Regions from separate parts of the Homo sapiens genome. Here regions 2 and 3 are each linked to region 1. Evidence: promoter capture Hi-C in 16 types of primary human blood cells and fetal thymus (Javierre and others, 2016). All regions are on one chromosome and are shown on one strand. Each heading gives the region's core, a stretch centred on a gene start or on the middle of the fragment in contact. The rest is flanking DNA. Distances are from core to core; before and after follow the strand shown. Region 1 holds the start of CASKIN2 (CASK interacting protein 2). Region 2 overlaps ITGB4 (integrin subunit beta 4). Region 3 overlaps SAP30BP (SAP30 binding protein).

What was found. The method cuts DNA at HindIII sites, captures the fragments that hold promoters and counts their contacts. A CHiCAGO score of 5 or more calls a contact.
Region 2: a fragment that was not itself captured here is called in contact with the fragment with the promoter of CASKIN2 in region 1 in 5 of 17 cell types (endothelial precursors, erythroblasts, M0 macrophages and 2 more); the score reaches 11.9 in endothelial precursors.
Region 3: a fragment that was not itself captured here is called in contact with the fragment with the promoter of CASKIN2 in region 1 in 1 of 17 cell types (endothelial precursors); the score reaches 5.5 in endothelial precursors.

The regions. Positions count from the first base shown.
Region 1 is chr17:75,512,263-75,516,786 of GRCh38, forward strand. It overlaps CASKIN2 (CASK interacting protein 2), which reads right to left and starts at 3,275. Exons shown (of 20, transcript NM_020753.5): 1 at 3,139-3,275; 2 at 1,449-1,946. The coding sequence starts at 1,542. It overlaps TSEN54 (tRNA splicing endonuclease subunit 54), which reads left to right and starts at 4,266. Exons shown (of 11, transcript NM_207346.3): 1 at 4,266-4,354; 2 at 4,484-4,524. The coding sequence starts at 4,299. RefSeq lists enhancers at 2,385-2,951, 4,046-4,340 and silencers at 3,125-3,734, 4,125-4,504. The HindIII fragment of the contact is 2,660 bases long and covers 2,682-4,524 here.
Region 2 is chr17:75,746,360-75,750,883 of GRCh38, forward strand. ITGB4 (integrin subunit beta 4) reads left to right here. Exons shown (of 40, transcript NM_000213.5): 27 at 2,482-2,686; 28 at 3,752-3,909; 29 at 4,321-4,501. Among named protein-coding and RNA genes, the nearest start is that of GALK1, 17 kb to the right of the region's middle. The HindIII fragment of the contact is 2,980 bases long and covers 591-3,570 here.
Region 3 is chr17:75,677,810-75,682,333 of GRCh38, forward strand. All of the region lies in intron 3 of SAP30BP (SAP30 binding protein), which reads left to right. Among named protein-coding and RNA genes, the nearest start is that of SAP30BP-AS1, 4.7 kb to the right of the region's middle. The HindIII fragment of the contact is 787 bases long and covers 1,891-2,677 here.

The sequences.
Region 1 (4,524 bases), core at 2,025-4,524:
TCCTGCCTCAGTCTGGTGGCAGGAACCACCTCCTGCCTATGCTGATCTGGGATCTCAAGGTGACAAGTCCAGCGGCCTCCTGGGACAGCCCAGAGAGCCCTCCCTGAAGCCCAGAGGTCTATTCTCCCTGTGGGGGGTCGCACCACAGAGGTACCCAAGACATGGGGCTCAGGTGTGGCCGCTTGTGCATGGATCCCCCACAGCCCGGTCAGGTCTCGAGGCTAGGTGAAAATCTCCAGTAAATGAGCTCTGGCCACACCCCACCAGGACACACATGTCAGGGGAAGAGAAACTTTAGCAACTTGTTAGAGAGTGTTGAACTTTTTTTAAGCAGTAGAATTCCCTTTTTAAAAGCTATCTCGTGGCCTGGTGCGGTGGCTCATGCCTGCAATCCTAGCACTTTGGGAGGCTGAAGCGGGTGGATCACCTGAGGTCAGGAGTTCGAGACCAGCCTGACCTAGATGGTGAAACCCCGTCTCTAGTAAAAATTAGCCAGGCGTTGTGTCAGGCACCTGTAATCCCAGCTACTCGGGAGGCTGAGGCAGAAGAATAGCTTGAACCCGGGAGGCAGAGGCTGCAGTGCGCTGAGATCATGCCACTGCACTCCAGGCCGGGTGAGAAAGCAAGACTCCGTCTCAAAAAAAAAAAACAGCTATCTTATAGATATCCTCTTAAGACACGAACATAGAGGTGCTCTGGTTGAAATGTGTGCGTTTGAGGTTGGGGGTAGGGATGAAGTTCTATCTATTCAGTCTTCTCTAACCCACTGTCAGAAATCTCATGGCTCCAAAGAACACATCAGAAAGACCATCTGCTAGAAGGCAACTCCACGAAGACAGGAATTTGGGTCTGTTTTGTTCACTACTATGATCCAGTGCTTAGAACAGAGCCTGAGCCAGGCACAGTGACTCACGCCTGTAATCCTAGTACTAGGAGGCCTACCTAGGTGGGTGGATCACTTGAGGTCTGGAGTTCGAGACCAGTCTGGTCAACATGGTGAAACCCCCATCTCTACCAAAAATATAAAAAAAAATTAGCCGGGCATGGTGGCACACACCTGTAATCCCAGCTACTAGGGAGGCTGAGGCAGGAGAATGGCTTGAACCCAGAAGGCGGAGGTTCCCGTGAGCCGAGATCCTGCCACTGTACTCCAGCCTGGGTGACAAGCTATAGGCACTCAATAACAATGTGAATGAACGTACTTCAACCCTCTAATTTTGCAGGCCAGGAAACTGCAGCCCAGAGAGGTTAAGTGACTTGCCTAAGGACACACAGCAAGGGGGACCCAACTTTCTCTCTGGCTCTCTCACACAGAGGCACTTCTTACTGAGAACAAGACAGTCCACCCTCCTCAAATATGCAGATCACAGTGACCCACCCCCACCCACCAAGCCTCTGTGAACTGAGCGCTCGGCCTCAGCGGGATGCTCGTCCCACCCGGTACTCACTTGTCTTTGTGGCCTTGACCTTCGCCACCAGTTTCTGCACACCGGTCACATCTCCATTCTTGACGGCGAGGATCAGGTCCTGTTCACGACCCATACTGGCTCCTGGGCTGAGCTCTACACTCAGGAGTCCAGGGCAAAGGCAGGCAACGGGTCCAAGCTGGGGCGTCAGGGCGCCATGCCACAGCCCCTTGGAGGGCTCCCGGTTCCGGGGGAGCAAGTCAGGTGTCCCAGGCAGTGGGCTCCTCGTCAGGTACTGAGGGATACTCCCAAAGGTGCTCCGTGAACTGCCACCACACGAAGGAAAGCTAATCTTTGAGGGGGTGAAGGCTACATGGAAATCTGGATGGATATCAGCTTGTGGCTTCCGACAGCTCCAGGATGGGCTGGGACTGGGCACACCAATCTTCCCGGCTTGGCTGTGGAACACCAGTGCCCACCCAGAGAGCAGCCAGCATTCCCTTGGGCCTCAGGCAGCAGCGGTGCACTGGTCTCAGGGCTCTGGAAAAAGCACGGGGCCTCTGTCGAATGCTGGGCCACAGCCTGCAAGGGTCCCAGAAGTGGAGTGCAGAGGATGAGCAGGACAAGACCTCCAGGGAGCCCCCAAGCCACCCTGGCTCCCCTCGGAGTCGATGGTGATGCTGAGCCACTGAAAGTGGGGAGGAAGCTGCTATGCATGAGAGGAGTATTGGTGGGGGGGAGGTGGCATTCTGGGAGGGGGAGGCTGAGTCACTGGGGCCCCAGGGCACCTGGCAGTACCTCAACCTTGGGCAGGAGGGGCCCTGGCAGCATGACATACTGGGGCAGGCCGGGCCAGCAGCCTGTTCTCCACAGCCCGAGGCTCCGACACCCACAGACAACTGGCGGGCCAGGAGGTGGGGCCGGGAGGGTCAGGCACAGGCAGGCGGGCAGGGGTCACTCCCTGTCAAAGGCACCAGCCCCCAGATTCCTCCCTACGGAGGCTTCAAGGCTTCGCTTTAATGGCTGGATGCCCTAGTCCTAGGACTCTTTGTGAACGGAGAGCATGAAGTGCTTCTGGCCCCCCATTTCTGGGGGCTCTGCCTGCTAGAGAGGGAAGCTGCACAGCACCTGTTGCTGACCCGCCCTCGCCCCTTGTGTCGGGTGGAGGAGCAGCTGGGCAGAGAACAGAGAGAGCTGGGGCACTGCTGACAAACGGGGCTCCCAAGCCCCCCAAGCCTGAACCTGAAGCCCAGACCCTGGACTCCACCGCAGAGAAGCTTACGTCAGTTTCTCGGTGGCAGCGAATTTACTGCCAGAGTCTTGTGGCATGAGATCCGCGCAGGCCTGGGGCCCTGGCCGGGAACCCCTCACTCCCCAAACGTCCCAAGCCCAACCCAGGGGCACTCCCACGCGGAGCCCGCGGCCGACACGGGCGGAGGGCGCCCTTGGCAGTGCCTGGGGTCGGGCTGGCTCCCCCGCCCCCCGGAATGTCCCTCCAGCGCCTCGCAACCCCCCAGCCCAGCCCAGCCCAGCCCAGGCCCACCGGGGAACAAAGCGGCGGGAGAAGCCGGGCGGGCCAAGCGCCCGAGGTATAAACGCGGAGGATGGAAAAAGGGGCGCGAGGAGGACGGAAGGAGCGGGGAGATGGAGGTGCCCGCCGACCCCGCAAGAAAAGTTAGTTTGCGCCCGCCCCCAGGGGCGCTGACCCCCAGCGCGGGCCCCGCAGCCTCACCTCTCCCGGCCGCCCGCCGGGGTCCGGCTGGCCCTGCTCGGTCCCTGGCACTCAGGACGGTGGCTCCCACTCCCCCCTGCCCCCCTTTCTCCTTCTCCTTTTCCAAGGCCGGCTCGGCGCCTCCCGCAGGAAATCCCGCCCCTCCCCCCTCCCTCCCGCCGGATCGGGAACGGAGGGACCGTCCCGGCCGCGCAGTCAGGCTGTCAGTCAGCACCGGCGGCTCCGCCCCCATCCGCGCCAGATCCCGCCCCAACTCGTGCCCGCCCGGACCGGGGGCGCTGACCGGATCAGCGCATGCGCCCAGGTGAAACGGAGGGGCGGGGGGCGCGGGGGCAGAGGTGACCTGGGGCTCTGGACTTAGACCCAAGGGCTAGACACCCCGGGTCTGACTGGTGGGAGAGAAGACGTAATGTGAAGGGGGTTGGCAACCAAGACGCGGGACCCCACTTGCAGTACCCCCCGTCTGCGGCCGGCGTCGCCCACCCGCAGCCGCCGGCCGGGCAATGGCACCACCTAGCGGACGGCACCAGTGCGGGGACCCCAGCCTCGAGGAGGCGCTCGTGCCGGGCGGAGGTGGCGCTTCAGCACCGTCGTGGGCCGGACAGCGCCTCCCGCCCCCGGCCCTCGAAACCTGGCTTCGGAGCCCAGCCGTAGGGACCGGACGGAAGACACCGAAGGAATGGCGAACCTCCCCGGACCGCTCCTGACAGTTCCCGGGTGGCCTTCGGCCTGCAAAGTCGGAATTTGCACACCCTCCGCTCGTCCTTCCCTGAGCCCTTCTGCCCTCCTTGCCCAGCCCGGGCGGTGGGGACTAAGCAGCGCGAGGCTGCAGAGGGGCGGTCACAAGTGTGACCATTCGCACTGCACTCCAGACGCCGGCTCCTCAGGCTTTACTGGAGAGAAGCCCCGAGGAGGGCTAGGGGCAAAAGAGGGGCCTTCTGCATCTCCAGCAACCTGCGGGCTGAGCTCCCAGACCCGGCGTCGGGGTGCGCTTCCGGGCGGGCGCTAGGACCGGGGACAATCAGGAGGGCGCAGAGCGGGCTGGGGCGGTGCAGGGGGCGGGGCTGCCGCGGCATTGCGGATCGGCGGGCACTAGGGCAGCGCGGAGCTCCGGCGGTGGGCGGGGCGTGGCGGCGCGCGCAGCGGCAGGCGGCGGCGGGATGGAGCCCGAGCCCGAGCCCGCGGCCGTGGAGGTTCCCGCGGGGCGCGTGCTCAGGTGCGGCGCGGCCCGGCCGGAGTGGGTGTCGGGGGCGCGGGGCCAGCGCGGGTAGGGAAACCGGCGCCCGGGACCCGGCCAGGCGGCCCCCGATGCGCGGCGCTGACCCCGCGTCCCCTTCTCCCCCAGCGCCCGGGAGCTCTTCGCCGCCCGCTCGCGGTCGCAGAAGC
Region 2 (4,524 bases), core at 831-3,330, 230 kb after region 1:
GTAACAGGGACTACAGGTGCGCACCACCACACCCAGCTAAATTTTGTATTTTTAGTAGAGACGGGGTTTCACCATGTTGGTCAGGCTGGTCTCGAACTCCTGACCTCGTGATCCGCCCACCTCAGCCTCCCAAAGTGCTGGGATTACAGGCATCAGCCACCGCGCCCGGCCATTTTATATTTTTAGTAGAGATAGGGTTTCGCCATGTTGCCCAGGCTGGTCTCAAACTCCTAGGATAACATGATCCTTTTGCCTTGCCTTCTGGCTACCCTGTTACACTTGTATAAAGATGCTTTGAGGCTGGGTACAGTGGCTCATGCCTGTAATCCCAGCACTTTGGGAGGCCAGGGCGGGCAGATCGCTTGAGATCAGGAGTTCAAGACCAGCCTGGCCAACATGGCGAAACCCTGTCTGTACCAAAAATACAGAAAATTATCTGGGTGTTGTGGTGTGCACCTGTGGTCCCAGCTACTCGGGAGGCTGAGGTAGAGCCCAGTAGGTGGAGGTTGCAGTTAGCCGAGATAGTGCCACTGCACTCCAGCCTGGGTGACAGAGTGAAACCCCTGTCTCAAAAAAAAAAAAAAAAAAAAAGCTTTGATATTTGTTTTTTAAAACATTTTAATTTCTCACCTTTTTATTTTTAAAAACTTCAACTTACAGAAAAATGGAAGGAACAGTAAAACTAGCACCCATTTACCCTTTACATAGATTCACCGATTGCTAATATTTGCTTTCTCTCTCTTTCTATATAGATAGCAACATAGAAATATAAATAGAGATGTGGACATCTGTATCTTCACATTGATTATACTAGTACCTAAAATTAGTCCATATTCCAGCCAGGCGTGGTGGCTCACACCTGTAATCCCAGCACTTTGGGAGGCTGAGGCAGGTGGATCACCTGAAGTCAGGAGTTTGACACCAGCCTGACCAACATGGAGAAACCCCATCTCTACTAAAAATACAAAAATTAGCCGGGCATGGTGGCACACGCCTGTAATCTCAGCTACTAGGGAGGCTGAGGCAGGAGAATCATTTGAACCCAGTGGGTGGAGGTTGCAGTGAGCCAAGATTGCGCCACTTCACTCCAGTCTGGGCAAAAGAGCAAAACTCCATCCCAAAAAATATATAAAATAAAATAAAATAGGTCCATATTCCAATGTCCCCTTGTTCGGATGTCCCAATAATGTCCTTTATAGCGTTTTTCCCCCCAATGCAGGAACTAATCAAGGATTTGGCATTGACTTTTGTCACGTGTCTTGACTCCTTTAATCTAGAAAAGTTTCCTGGCTTTGTCTTCCGTGACACTGACTTTTGTTAAGACAAGGTCTCGCTCTGTCACCCAGGCTGGAGTACAGTGCCTCACTGCAACCTCTGCCTCCCGGGTTCAAGCAATTCTCCTGCCTTAGCCTCCCGAGTAGCTGGGATTACAGGCACCGGCCACCATGCCGGGCTAATGACACTGACGTTTTTGAAGTATCCATGTAGGTTGCTTGCAGGCAGCTCCCTGGTTTGTTTTTTGTTTGTTTGTTTTACAACTATGGGTCTCACTTTCTGAGTTGGGTGGCATGAGGTTGCCTCCCCAGCCATCGCCCTGGCTGCTGCGCCTGGAATTGAAATCTTGCCCTGAAGTGCCACCTAGTGGTCTTCTATGTGAAGGATTTTCTTTTTCCTCCCAGTTCTTATCCTGGAAAGCTCAGGCATGCTCCACGGCACTGAAAGGAAGATGGGTGGCTCACGCCTGTAATCCCAGCACTTTGGGAGGCCAAGGTGGGCGGATCGCTTGAGGCCGGGAGTTCAAGACCAGCCTAGGCAACATAGGGTAACCGTGCCTCTACAAAAAAAAAAAAAAAAAAAATAGCCAGGTGTGGTGCACGCCTGTAGTCCCAGCTACTCAGGCGGCTGAGGGGAAGGATGGCCTGAGCCCAGGAGGTCAAGGCTTCAGTGAGCTGTGATTGTGCCCCTACACTCCAGCCTGGGTGACAGAGTGAGACCCTGTCTCAAAAACAAACAAACAAACAGAAACGTGGCTGGGCATGGTGGCTCATGTCTGTAATCCCAGCACTTTGGGAGGCCAAGGTGGGAGGATCACTTGAAGTCAGGAGTTCGAGACCAGCCTGGCCAACATAGTGAAACCCCATCTCTACTAAAAATACAAAAATTAGCTAGGCGTGGTGGCAGGTGCCTGTAATCCCAGCTACTCAGGAAGATGAGGTGTGAGAATCATTTGAACCTGGAAGGTGGAGGTTGCAGTAAGCCGAGATCATGCCACTGCACTCCAGCCTAGGTGACAGAGTGAGATTACGCCTCAAAAAAAAAAACAAACAAAAAAAACACAAAAACCTGAACCTCGTGTAAGTACTCCACCCAGCAAGCAGGGATGGTCTCTGCAGTGTCCATGAGGTTGGGAGGGAGCGTGTGGCCATGACTCTTGCCTCAGCCCCCAGCCATGACCCTGACCCTGACCCCCTCCACTCCCAGGACTACATCCCCGTGGAGGGTGAGCTGCTGTTCCAGCCTGGGGAGGCCTGGAAAGAGCTGCAGGTGAAGCTCCTGGAGCTGCAAGAAGTTGACTCCCTCCTGCGGGGCCGCCAGGTCCGCCGTTTCCACGTCCAGCTCAGCAACCCTAAGTTTGGGGCCCACCTGGGCCAGCCCCACTCCACCACCATCATCATCAGGGACCCAGGTAGGCAGAGCCTGGGGGTCGGCTTAAGCAGGAGGAGAGGGAAGACTGGGGGGTCTCTCAACTAGGTCTGTCAGACTTAGCAAATCCAAACACAGGACGCCCAGGTAAATCTGAATTTCAGGTAAACAACATACACGTTGGTAGGATAAGTATGTCCCATGCAATATTTGGAACATACTTATCCTTTTTTTTGCAAAATGGGCTGGGTATACTGGCTCACACCTGTAATCCCAGCATTTTGGGAGGCCAAGGTGGGAGGATCACTTGAGCCCAGGAGTTCTAGACCAGCCTGGGCAACATAGTGAGACCTCGTCTCTACAAAAAATAAACAAATTAGCTTGGCATAGTGGTGTGCACCTGCAGTCCCAGCTATTCCGGAGACTGAGGTGGGAGGATCACTTGAGCCCAGGGGGTCTGGGCCGCAGCAAGCTGTGATCGCACCACTGCACAGCACCTGGGCCATGGAATGAGATCCTGTCCCCCAAGAAAAAATAATCTTGTTGTTTATCTGAAATTCAAATGTAACTAGGCATCCTGCATTTTATCTGGCAACCCTACAGCTAGAGAGGCTGTTGTCACCACACAATAGGAATTCTCCCATCAGACCCTGGCCCTTTGGCTTCAGCCTCAATTCCAACTAACATGCAGATGCTTGTGGAAGGAAGGAGTGGGCCAGTTAGTTCCTATCAGCCCTCAGCCTCCCAACTGGGAGAAAGCCTGCCAGGAAGATGGGAGAGGAGGGAGATACTCAGGGTACAGTGTGGAGATGGGGTGGGGAGCAAATGTTCTCATGTGGAATGTTCCCTGAGCTGCCAAGGGAGAAAGGGGCAGACCAACTCCCTCCCGCTTCTGTTCCTCCAGAGACCCTCCTGGGTCCTCCGCCAAGCTTGGCAGGATGCTCTATGTGGCAGCAATGGGGCACCACCAGGTCTCCAGAGACGCGGGTGGGCAGGTCTGAGTTGAATGCGCTGGGTAGAGCGCCCTGGGTGTTGAAGTGGGTCTCTGGCGCCCCCTGGTGGTGAAGGGGGATCTGAGTGGTTGCCCGGCCCCAACCTGACCCGTTAGATGAACTGGACCGGAGCTTCACGAGTCAGATGTTGTCATCACAGCCACCCCCTCACGGCGACCTGGGCGCCCCGCAGAACCCCAATGCTAAGGCCGCTGGGTCCAGGAAGATCCATTTCAACTGGCTGCCCCCTTCTGGCAAGCCAATGGGGTACAGGGTAAGGCGGGGGGCTGAGGGTCACGACAGGTGGATGGGCGGTCTGGCACCAGCACTCACAGAAGAGGTGGGCCGTCCAAGGCCAGGGCCCCCTGAGAGAGAGCAGACAGTGGAACCTAGCACAGGTGGTCAGAGGGAAACCCGGTCTGTGCTGGGAAAGAGGGAAGACCCATTCCTGAGTTTATCAGACATTTGCCCTCCTTCCTAGAATGGGGCCCCCTCCCACCCCCGCATGGGAGATACCCCCACCTGCTCTGCCCTAGTCCTGACGTGTGCACATGGCAGATCTCTCAGCCCCTCCCTCGGGCCTCATCTGTGCAAAGAGGACAGTAAGGGCAGAGGTCAGAGGAGGGACAGGCAGCTTGGGTGCCTGCTGCTCCCTGCTGACCAGGACCCCTGTCCCTGGGGGTAGGTAAAGTACTGGATTCAGGGTGACTCCGAATCCGAAGCCCACCTGCTCGACAGCAAGGTGCCCTCAGTGGAGCTCACCAACCTGTACCCGTATTGCGACTATGAGATGAAGGTGTGCGCCTACGGGGCTCAGGGCGAGGGACCCTACAGCTCCCTGGTGTCCTGCCGCACCCACCAGGAAGGTGAGGCCTCGCCATGTCTGTCC
Region 3 (4,524 bases), core at 1,034-3,533, 160 kb after region 1:
CAATTTGTTCTAAAGGCTAGCAGTTTACCCACCATTGCTTGTGCAAAGGTCAACACGATGAAAAAGACAATGACTTAAAACGGTTTTGACTTTGCAGACCCCTTAGAAAAACTACTATTATTCTAAAACAGAAATCATGGGTCAGTGATTCAGTAGTTGTTTGAGAACTGTTTTTATTGCTCTGAAAATGTCCGTTAAGTTGTTAGCCTTATGGGGTCTTGAGCCATGTTGAGGGTGGGTTAGTATTCAGAGTAAGATGATTCAGCCCTGGCATGGTGGGGAGGAGTTCAAGCTCTGGAATGAGACTGGGGTTTTCTTGGGGAAGTCCTTTAACCTCAGTTTTTCTCATCGCGAAAATAATCATCATAATAAAATCTGTCTCATTTATTTTAAGGTTCAACTAAGTAAAAATAAAATGCAGTTGTCCCTCACTATCTGTGGGGATCCCAGGACCCCCTCCTCAGATGCTCAAGGTTCTGATATAAAATGGTGTAGCATTTGCATTTAGCCTTGGGAATCCTTCTGGATACTTTAAATCATCTTATGATACTTGATACAATGTAAATGGCTGTGTAACTAGTTGTTAGACTGTGTTGTTTAGGGAATAATGACAAGCAAAAAAGTCTGACACGTTCAACACAGACACAATTTAAAACACACACACACACACACACACACACACACAATTGGAGGTGAGTTCTGGCCATGGATTCAGAACCACAGATCCAGAGGGCCGGCTGTACTCGACTCAGTATGTCTGGTGTGTGTTTGTTCAGTAGCATTGGCTGAACTGACCATCACTTCCAGTTCCACCTGTGCACACTTCCCAGGCTGGTCATACCATGTTGTCGGCCGGTTTTGGAAGAGCAGATTCCATGTTTTAAACTGGAGTGCTCTCAGAAGAGCAGTCATAAAGGTGAGGGGACTCAAAAGCACATCACCTGAGGGAAAGGTAGAGCTGGAAGACAGAAGACTCGGGAAGAGCCGGGGTTGCGCTCTGGTGTTTGAAGGTCTGCTGAGGGAAAGGCTAAGGCAGCCTGAGGCAGACCTGAAGCCGCGCGCAGAATTCCACAGAAGTTTACCTTCATATAACGAAGGACCTTTTGTGATCTCCGGCCACAAGTGGGTTGAGCTGTTTCATAAGGTAGTGAGCTCCCTGTTTCTAGAGGTTTTTCAGGCAAGTTTTTTTTTTTTTTTTTTTTGAGACGGAGTCTCGTTCTGTCGCCCAGGCTGGAGTGCAGTGGCTCCATCTCAGCTCACTGCAAGCTCCGCCTCCCAGGTTCACGCCATTCTCCTGCCTCAGCCTCCCGAGTAGTACCTGGGACTACAGGCGCCCGCCACCACACCTGGCTAATTTTTTGTATTTTTAGTAGAGACAGGGTTTCACCATGTTAGCCAGGATGGTCTCGATCTCCTGACCTCGTGATCTGCCTGCCTCGGCCTCCCAAAGTGCTGGGATTACAGGTGTGAACCACCATGCCCGGCCTTCAGGCAAGTTGTAAGAAACGACTTGTCATCAACATCATAAAATCTGTTGGTAGAGGTTGGATTAAACTCCAGGGAGTTCCCTGGGAACCCCCTAGGAAAGGACTTGGGCATTATACATAAGCAAAGTTGAGTATTCTCTAACTTTGTTATCTGATGACTTTAAAATATGCACAGACTGGAATTGCCCTGGTTTTTATTGCTCTGATGTTTGGGGTTACCTGTGAGCACAGAGTCCCATGTTTGGGAGCGTGAGTAAGAACTAACTCTGGCCCACCTGGGCAGAGAGACTTGGTCCTGTCCTTTAGGTTGGGGCAGCAGGGATTGGGCTCTGCAGGTGCTGAGTTTGCCCCAAACTAGCGAACAGGAGATTGGAGAAGGAGGCTGGGCGTTGCATAGGAAACAAGCTTTGTTTCCTGTGTTCCATTATTTTTTCGTCTCTAACTTCAAGTTTCTGATCTTGTCTCTTCGGTAAGCAGCAAATTAACAGGAGGTGGCACTGCTGTTCTGGAAAAAGAGCAGACGTGACAGTCCTGGGGCCAGCACCTCACTCCGGGAAAGGAGTGCCTGGTGGCTGAAGTGCTTCCTCCCCCTGTTTACCTTTGGCACCCGAACATCCCTTTCGCCACTCTCCTTTGTCCATTTTTACCTCGTTTGCTCTGGACGGTTTCCCTTGTTTATTTTTTTCTCCACTCCTACAGTTCCTGTGGATGAAGCTGTTTCCATTCACTCACTGTCCCTGACACACCCTTCCTTTGAAAACAAACATGGGGGTTGAGAGCCTGGAGCAAGAAAGATGGAGCAGCCTATTGCCAGCTGACTGGGAGGGACTGGGATCGCCGGCCTCCCTGAGGTGCTGATCTAGGAAAAGATCTAGATCTCACGCTCTGATCTAGGAAAAGAATCCTCCCAGCCCAGGAGTGTACATCTGTGAAAACAAAATTCCGTCTTCTGGGTCAAGGAGGTGGCATCAGGTGGGGGTTGGGGGGAATTGTTCTGGCATTTTTTAAAAAGGCGTGTATAACCCCAGTTAAGAGAAGACATTTTTAAAATTCTAAGATCCCTAAAGTAGTACTAAAATGTGGAGCTCACAAACAATTTAGAGCCGGTCTGGTGGACTTGTGGTCCGAAGACCTGGGTTGTGCCCTGGCCTGGCTTCCCTCTGGCTGTGGAACCACAGGCCTGTAACTTAAGCTTCACTCGGCTCCATTTGGGCAGTCAGGGCCGTGAGACCCCCTTTGCAAGGTGGTTGTGACTGCGGCGTGAGAGAATGTACATGAAGGTGCTTTTCGCAGTATACAATGCACTTGTTAGCAGTGCTTGGCCTTTTCAGTGTAACTAAGTCTGATTATACGCCCTTATCCTGTAGGTTAGAAGGCGCCACGATTTCTCGGCTCACTGCCCTTCATGTCTCCATAGTTTTTCACAGACCTCTGGAACAAAAAGAAATGCCTAATGGCTGAGTGTGGTAGCTCAAGCCTGTAATCCCAGCACTTGGGGATGCCCGAGGCAGGAGAATTGCTTGAGCACAGGAGTTTGAGACCAGCCTGGGCAACATGGTGAAACCCGTCTCTACAGAAACTACAAAAGTTAGCCAGGCATGGTAGTGTGTGCCTGTAGTCCCAGGTACTTGGGAGGCTGAGATGGGAGGATCATTTGATCCTGGGAGGCAGAGGTTGCTGTGAGCCGAGATCTGTACCACTGCACTCCAGCCTGGGCAGCAAACCAAGACCCTGTCTGAAAAAAAGAAGAAAAAATGCCTAACGAATGGTTCTGTTTCTTATGTCATTAGCTTCAGACACTAAGTATTACTGTCCTCACAATTCAGTAGCTGCTTAAAAAAATAATATGTGTAAGTGTGTGTGGTATGTGACATGTGGAGTAAGGCTGTGTTTCCTGTAACAGTTTTGTTAAATATCCTGTGGCACCTTTGTGAGTTTGCTGGGTTACCCCAGGTAGTAGTCTGGGAACTGTGGCAGTAGATTGTCTTAAGAGTTCCAGAGTGGGGGCCTTGACAAGTCCTCACTTAGCCTCCTCTGGAGGCCCAGCCGGGTGAGTGGTTCTCTGCCTCAGTGGCTATTCATACCCATCCTGAAGAAGACCAGGTCTCCCAGTTGACGGGAGTTACTGACTCACAGTCTAGATGAGGATTTGTATTGGGCAGAGCTGACTCGGTAATTCCCTCACCCACTCTCCTCTCAACTCCTTCCCACTGTCCTTGCATTACTCCTGATCTTTTGAAGTACCAGAATCAAATATCTGAAAACTGCCTAAGGGGCTAATCTCCCAGGAATTTGTTGTTGACTGCTGATTATAGGAAGAACTTTGAGGAGCCTGCCAGCAATTGCATGCAGGCAGCACTGCAGGTTGAAATCTTATATTCTTTTTATTGAACACAGACCCAGAACACGGGCAGCTTCTGCAGGATTGCTGCAGAGCACAAGTGTTTCCCATCTGGGCTCCTGGTATATTCGCTGCCCTTCCAAGACTCTGGGATCTGAAAGGAAGATGCTGTGGCTTTTCATAAACAAGCAGCAAAGGGTTGCATTCCTCCTGATATTGAAGGATATTTAGGAGGGTATGTGATGTGGTATGAGATAGGAGCCCCGAGTCCTTTTGCAGCATTGCAAACAGGTTGTTTGTGTGCCTTTGTTGATGCGCTGCTGGCGAGCCCTGACAACTGAGAATTACTCTGCAGAACGAAAGAGCAAACTTGAGCTCTCAGAGCTTAAGCTTGGACTTTTTTTTTAATGGACAGAGTTATTTTTTTATAAAAATATAAAATGTTTTTATATTGTGTTTATTTTTATTTTTGTCAAATTATTGTAGCAAGATTGAGTATTTTGCAAAAGGAAAAAAAATCACCTAATCTCATGATGCTAACCATACGACCATTTTTTTTTTTTTGAGACGGAGTTTCACTCTTGTTGCCCAGGCTGGAGTGCAGTGGCGTGATCTCAGCTCACTGCAGTCTCCACCTCCTTGGTTCAAGCGATTCTCCTGCCTCAGCCTCTCGAGTAGCTGGGATTACAGGTGTGC